Regions from separate parts of the Homo sapiens genome. Here region 2 is linked to region 1. Evidence: promoter capture Hi-C in 16 types of primary human blood cells and fetal thymus (Javierre and others, 2016). All regions are on one chromosome and are shown on one strand. The core of a region is centred on a gene start or on the middle of the fragment in contact, and the rest is flanking DNA. Distances in the headings are between cores, read along the strand shown.

Region 1 (3,907 bases), core at 1,206-3,705:
GATCCCCCATCCGAATACATGGTGCACAGATATCCCAACTTAGTCCTGGTCCCTGCTCCATCCACTATTTTTTTTTAATGTTTAAAAAATTGTGATAAACTGTACATAATGTAAAATTTGCCATCGTAACCATTTTCAAGTGTACAATTCAGTGGCATTAAGTACATTCACATTATTGTGCAACCATCACTACCATTTATCTCTGGAACTTTTTCATCATTCCCAAACTGAGAATCTGTACTCATGAATCAATAACTACTCATTCCCCCTCCTCCAGCCACTGGTAACCACTATTCTACTTTCTGTCTCTGTGAATGGACTATTCTAGGTACAAGTGGAATCATACAATATTTCCAGGTATAAGTGGAATAATACAATATTTGTCCTTTTGTGTCCAGCTTATTTCATTTAGCATAATGCTTTTGCCTTGATCTGAATGTTTGTGTCCCTGCAAAATGGGGTTGAAATCCTGACCCCCAAGGTGACGGTATTGGGAGGTGGGGCCTTTGGGGGGTGGTTAGGTCATGAAGGTAGAGTCCTCATAATTGGGACTAGTGCCCTTATGAAAGAAACCCCAGAGAGCTAGCCAGCCCCCTTCTACTAAGTGAGGGTGCAGTGAGAAGATGACAGCCTATCAACCAGGAAACAGGCCCTCACCAGGCACCGAATCTGCCAATGTCTTGATTTTGGACTTCCCAGCCTCCAGAACTGTAAGAAAAAAACTTCTATTGTTTATATGCTACCCACTCAATGGTATTTTGTTATAGCAGCCTGAATAGACTAAGACAGTTTTCAAGGTTCATTCATGTGTCAGAATTTCCTTCCCTTTTAAAGTTAATATTACATTGTATGGATATACCACATTTTGCTTATCCATTAATCTGTCGATAGACATTTGAATTGTTTCCACTTTTTGGCTATTGTGAATAATGCTATTATGAACATGAGTATACAAATATCTGTTTGAATCCCTGCTTTCAGTTCTTTGGGGTATATACCCAGAAATGGAATTGTTGGATCTTTTGGCAATTCTTGTTTAATTTTTTGAGGAACTACCATTCTGTATCCACAGTAATGGTACCATTTTACATTCCCACCAGCAATGCACAGGAGTTCCAGTTTCCCTGCAAGTCCTTGACAACGCTTGTTCCCATACACATTTGCTTTGGCTGCCTCAAAATGTAGAGCTTGGCAGATTGAGATTGTGGTGGGACGAAAGCCTTTGAAATGGAAAAAAGAGAAAGAGGGAGGGAGAAGAGTTGCGGAGTGGAGAGAGAGAGAGTGTGTGTGAAAAGGAGCTTTTTTCCCACTCTTCCCTGACCCTCATGGGGGCTGCAGCGACTCCTAGAACCTTCAAGCAGCGAGACAGAGGTTCCCTCCACCAGGCGCAGAGCTCTCCTTACACCTGGCCTCCTATTCCCAGCAACTTTAAGGAGATATTTTTAAGTGGCCATGGTTTTATCAAATGCCTATTAAGTTTTTGCCACAAAAGGATTTTATTTAAAATAAAAATAGGGGTAGGTATTTGACTGATGCCCCTTGTGAGTGCTCTAGAGAAGAGGAATGAATACTGACATGTCCTATCTTCCCAGATGCAGAATTGTAAAACAAACATAACTGCTTTTCACATGTGAAAGAAAACTGGCTTAGAACATACTAGCGTTTTCTTTGCCATGAAGGAGTTCACCTTCAGTGACTAAGCCAGAACTACTAGAGTTGCCGGGCCTAGGGACAGGAGACATTGCCAGTGCTTAGCCAGGCTGGCCAGGACTAACCATCTCTGCAAGGAGTCCACAAGAAGCCTCAGGGCAGCCTTTCCCTGCTCCTATCAATTTGAGTTGAGCAACAAACATTTTGACCAAATATCAGCTCTATGGCACAACTCACAGTTACGGTGCCCACAAAACGGAATCTCAGCAAAGCAACTACTACTATGGGAAGAGATCAGGGACTAATATCAGGAGAAAAAATAAGTTTTTCAGTCCTGGGTTTCCAAGTTGGCATCCCCAGGGCAAACCAGCAGGTTGGGAGGGTAGGGGGTGGTGGGTGGGGGCTGCGGAGGGAAGGTGGCTGCTGTCTGTCTGATCAGACCTGGGGCACACCCAAAGAACTCTCCTAGCTTGGGATCCGGTCAGGAAGAAACCAGGACGGTCCCTTTAGGAGGGTGGGCAGGGCTATCTGCCCGGGGGGTGCGGCCGCCCCTGCACAGCAGGCTATCGATTGTACCGGAGGCAGGGTGTGGGGAAACCGGGGCAAGTCCAGCCTCTCAGCAAGGCCAGGAAGCCATTCACTTGGATCCTGGATTTTACTAACGGATTAAACGTGGCATTCCCGCCTTCCCCCATCCGTTACAGACCTAAAAATAGCTCGTCCGAGAGGGGCCGGGAGAGGCTCCACCTCTTCTTGAGGTGGGGCGGGGCGGCTGTAGTAGGAGCTGGAGGCACCAGAGACCCCAAGCCACGAGCTGACCGACGCACCGAGGAGCTCTCTGTCCGCGGTCCCGCAGGTTGGCGGCACTGGAGTGGGCCGGGCAGGCTCTGCCTCCGCCGCAGAGAGCGCCCGGACTGCGTGGGGCTGGGGAAGCATCCCGGGAACGGCGGGCGGTGAGCATTCCGGGAACCATCTCTGGGCTGTCTGGGGCGGTGGAGCAAGTCTGGAGGCGGGACGTGGGGCGAGTATGGGAGCCGCCACCTCGAGACGTCTTCCCGCCGTCCCCGGCTCCAGGAGACCCCACGGTGAGCGGGCCGCGCGGGAAAACTATGCCAGGAATTCGTCCCGGGAGCGGGGCGGGTGGGTAGCTTGGCTGCAGTCCGAGGGATCAGCGATTCGGGAGGTTAAACATTAGCGGGGGCGAACTCCCTGCCGGGGTGCAGCGGGGCGCGGGAGGAGCCGGCTGCGTGCGTCCGCGCTGCCCAGGGCGCGCCCTTCTGGCCCGGCGCGGCCCTGCAGCCCGGCCCCCTCGGCCTGCTCCGAACTGCGGCGCCCAGGGAGGGAAGGACCCGTGCGCGGGGGACGAATGACGGGATGCCCCAAGACTCGGCTTCACTGGGAAGACGGCCTTGGGTTTTTACTTTTTGAAAAAAGAAAAGTGATTTGGGAGGGCTTGATGATCTGAGTGCCGTAGGTAAAGGAGGATTCTTTTAGTAATGAGGTGATTTAAAAGCAATCGCATTGGCATCTTTCGTTCCCCTTCTTCCTTTCCTGGGCTGGACCTCAGCAGGAGGCAGACGTGGTATTTTCATCCTGAGGTGGCTGCGCATAAAGTCCACCGAAGACCTGCTCAGTGCAGGACAGGGATCAGGAGGCAGGGCAGAGGAGGGGGTCCGAGGCTGCCTGGGCAGGGCCTAGTTCACGGAGCACTTCCTAGGGGCCCAGGGCCTAGGCTGCCCCTGCCTGGTCTCCTGGAATTCGATTTCTAACAGGACTTTGGAGAGAGGCCTGGGAAGTATGGGGTGTTCTGACTTGGCTTCTCACACCCTCATCTGCAGATAGGGTGGGTGATCTCTCCCTTCTCAGTTGCAGCCCCTAGCACCTCTCCTCCCCCTCCCGGATGTGAGGACTGGCCAGTGAGAACAATCCTGCTTAGGGAAGGCTGATCCTCCAGTCTAGTGGCTGATAAGGGGCCTTCTGACTGTCTTGGTCAGACACCTCCCTCATCTGGGAATATTTTTTGATACTATCTAACTTGATAAAATACCTCATGAAGTTGTATGCTTCAGGTTGGGAACAGAAACCTGAGTTCATGTGGGCACCATAACTGTGGGTTGTGCCATGGAGCTGATATTTGGTCAAAGGTTTTTTGCTCAACTCAAATTGATAGGAGCAGGGAAAGGCTGCCCTGAGGCTTCTTGTGGACTCCTTGCAGAGATGGTTAGTCCTGGCCAGCCTGGCTAAGCACTGGCAATGT
Region 2 (3,065 bases), core at 566-3,065, 830 kb before region 1:
GTGCTTTTTCGCTTTCCTAAGCTCCTGTCGCTCCTCTTTGTCCCCTCAGTTTATGTCCTCCTGTGCTCACCTCCCTGACCTCTGTGACCTTGCACTCCCCTGGCCTGAAGCTGCCTCTCTGCGCGCTTTCTACTGGGCTCGTCTCTTTCCGGAGCCCCAGCGTCTCCTGCCCAAATTCACCGCGGAAAGGGCCCGGGGCGGAGGTGCGACCGGGCGTCGGCAGCGCAGACCTCTTGGCCTTCTCTCACAGGTCGGTGCGCTCGCTCTCCGCGTTCCCCGCCCGACTGCCGTGCAGTCCATGGCTAGACGCGCCGGACAGGACTGATGGCGGGACCGCGCTGCCCGAGAAAGGGACGGACCAATACGTGTGTTTGCTCCGCGAACCCTCTTGAAGCTGTTCAGAAGCCGCTTGCCGCGGGGCCCACTAGGCGGGGCGGGGGTTGGGACCCAGCGGGAGCCGGGGCAGCCTGGCTCCACGGCCTGTACTCGGTTTACACCGCGGGCGGGCGCGGAGGGAGGCTGCGTTTCCTCCGCTATCAGTCCCGTCGCTTCGGGCACCTCCGGGCCCCGGCGGCTGGCTAATGTTTTGTTTGAAAGATCGGTGGAACTTTTTAAGAGAGTATTTAAAAAAAAAAAAAGGAAAAAAAATTCACCGGGCAACCGGGGAAGTATTGTGGCCTTGGAGTTTGCTAAATCCAAATATGAAAATCAAAAGCTTTAGTATTCCTCATCTTCTCTTCTGGAAGATTTGCGTTAGAGTTTTTGTTGGGCCTTCAAAAAGCTGTGTTCAGAGTTAGGAGAATATATCCAATAAAAGATGGTTTCGTCTACCAATTGGGGAAGTTTCACCCTCTCCCTATCTGAAGAAAAAAATCAAAAACAAATGTCCCCGGATCTTTCGATGCAAGTCCTGGAGGCAGGGAGATCACTGCCTGCCTGGCCCACGCTGCTGGGACGGCTCGTCCTCCCTGCTTTTTGTTTTTCAAACCTCCTGCTTCTCCCACCTTGGGAAGGAGAAATGTGAAACCCGGCAGCGGCCGACCTAGGCGGTCTTGTGGCCCGGAGCCGGCCCGGCCCGAAAACCATAGACCTGGTTGTACTGTAGCTTGTTGTTTGGGGGACCAAATTTTCTAGAGAGAACTAGAGCACTTTTGTTGTGTTTTTTTGTTTTGTTTTTGTTTTTTGCCTTGTCGATTCCCGAATAAATTTTGTGTTCCTTCTTTTAACACGGACTTCTTTATTTCTGTCGCTCCTTAGTTCAGCAGCTAGTTAAAAGAGGAAGATTTTCAGCAAAATTTTATCTTTTTCAGAATGAGTTAAACAAAGATTGAGAGCAACCGGGGTGGCAGGCGTTTGTGGCTGTCGCTGCTGCTTTGTTTTCCTGGGATTGTTTGTTTTCTGTGTCATCACTGGCCCGTTGCGGCTGTTTAACGTCAGCAGAAAGACTTTTTCTGCCGTGGTTCGTTCACAAGGCGCGACTGTAGGTAGGACTTGGTTTATTTTTGTACCTATTCAAGTTTGTATTCTACCTCATACACAGTTGTACTAGGTGTATGGGCTGGCTGTGTTTTTATTATTGTTCTCAAACTTTTCGATTTTGAGTCAACTATAACAGCCAAGAGTTTGTTCCAAACATTAATAGATAAAATTCTGGTTGTGGAAATGCGCTGCAAACTGCTAACCTCTGTACAAATGTGAGAAGTGACTGCTTTATTATTTTTAATAGTCAGAATTCATTTACCTTGAGATATGGGTAGGAGATTTGGAGGTTTCAGTAAGGATTGAACATACTTCGCGGCTGCAGAAATTTAGTCTTTTTTCTTTCTCTCTCTTCCTTTACTGAGATCCCCAAATAACGAATTAAGATCCATGCTTCCGCGCAGGCACACAGGCGTTTGACCTGGTTGCAGTCTGGTTCTCCCAGGCGGATTAGGGGGTGGTCGGCTTTCACTCTTCTGATGGGATAGATGACTTCCGACTTCTGATAGGATAGATCCGCCGGTTCTTGCGGGCTGCTGCTCAGCTGAGACTAGACCCCGCACCCAGCCCTCACTGCCCCCCCCCCGTCTATCTCGGGGCCTGGCCAGCAATGTGGCGGCAGGTCCAGGCCGGCTGGTGGGCCAGGAGCGGTTTTGCGCCACGGGAATGAGCCTGCAGGCCTCTCACTTCAGCCCTCCAGTGGTCAGGCGGTAGGAACCTCAGGGTGGTATCCTGTTATGTATAGTTGGGCCCAAGTGGCTTCTGCTCAGAATGCCCCCCGCCCCCCACAGGCATCCTGCGAGAGGCTACAAGGCAGGAGACCAAGCCACGGGGATTCTCAGGGGGCATCACCTCAAGACTGGGACTGGAGCTTACCAGGAACCGGCAGGAGCAGGATGGAGAGGGAGGCTCAGCTGGAGCAGGAAGCCCTAGAGGCTGGTCAGGCCTGGTGTCTGGGTGCCTTTGGTGCCCGGCTGCTCCACTATCTGGCTAAGGGGAGTTGCAGAACAGAAAGCAGCCTGCTGTGTGCATGTCTGTTTGTGCTTTGTCTAGCGTGAAAATTTAGCCCATGGGCAAGTAATTGTGTAGTCTGTATCTGCTGCAAATGTGTGTGTACAGTGTCAGTTGTGTATTGGTGACAGGGTGGGAGGTGTGTGTGTCTGTCATTCGCCTGCAGAGTGGGCATATATTTTTGGCATTGTAATAATCATATGGCTAACACTTAGGAAGTGCTTACTGGGACCACAGTGTGTGTGGCATTCATACCTCATTGGTGATGTGTGCATTTGTGGGTGTGTATTCCTGGCTTGCTGAAAAATAAAGTAATATGGACAGAGCCTTTGCTTCATCAGGCAGAGGCTCCCTGTTCTGAAGCTGGCTGTCAGCACTCCCCCAACTGCCGTCTCAAGCAGAGAAAGCAAGGGAGGGAAGCTTCCAGGACCAAGCCCTGGTGGGCAGGTAGCAGCCCACCTCCAGTGAGACGGAGAAGTTGGCCGGGGCCAGCAATGAAGGACCAGCCTGTCTCCTCCCCGAGAACTGAAAGGCAAAAGGCACCCAAGGCTGGGAAGAGAGCAGCAGCCTCACCA

The links. Contacts are between HindIII fragments. The CHiCAGO score rates a contact against its expected background, and 5 or more counts as called.
Region 2: a fragment that was not itself captured here is called in contact with the fragment with the promoter of DZIP1L in region 1 in 1 of 17 cell types (M0 macrophages); the score reaches 5.2 in M0 macrophages.

The regions. Positions count from the first base shown.
Region 1 is chr3:138,114,156-138,118,062 of GRCh38, reverse strand. It overlaps DZIP1L (DAZ interacting zinc finger protein 1 like), which reads left to right and starts at 2,455. Exons shown (of 16, transcript NM_173543.3): 1 at 2,455-2,735. RefSeq lists enhancers at 2,143-2,642, 2,643-3,144 and a silencer at 2,801-3,020. The HindIII fragment of the contact is 15,110 bases long and covers 1-3,907 here.
Region 2 is chr3:138,942,385-138,945,449 of GRCh38, reverse strand. FOXL2 (forkhead box L2) reads left to right here. Exons shown (of 1, transcript NM_023067.4): 1 at 1-1,226. It overlaps LINC01391 (long intergenic non-protein coding RNA 1391), which reads left to right and starts at 1,430. Exons shown (of 3, transcript NR_121649.1): 1 at 1,430-1,484; 2 at 2,832-3,065. RefSeq lists an enhancer at 338-927. The HindIII fragment of the contact is 2,195 bases long and covers 718-2,912 here.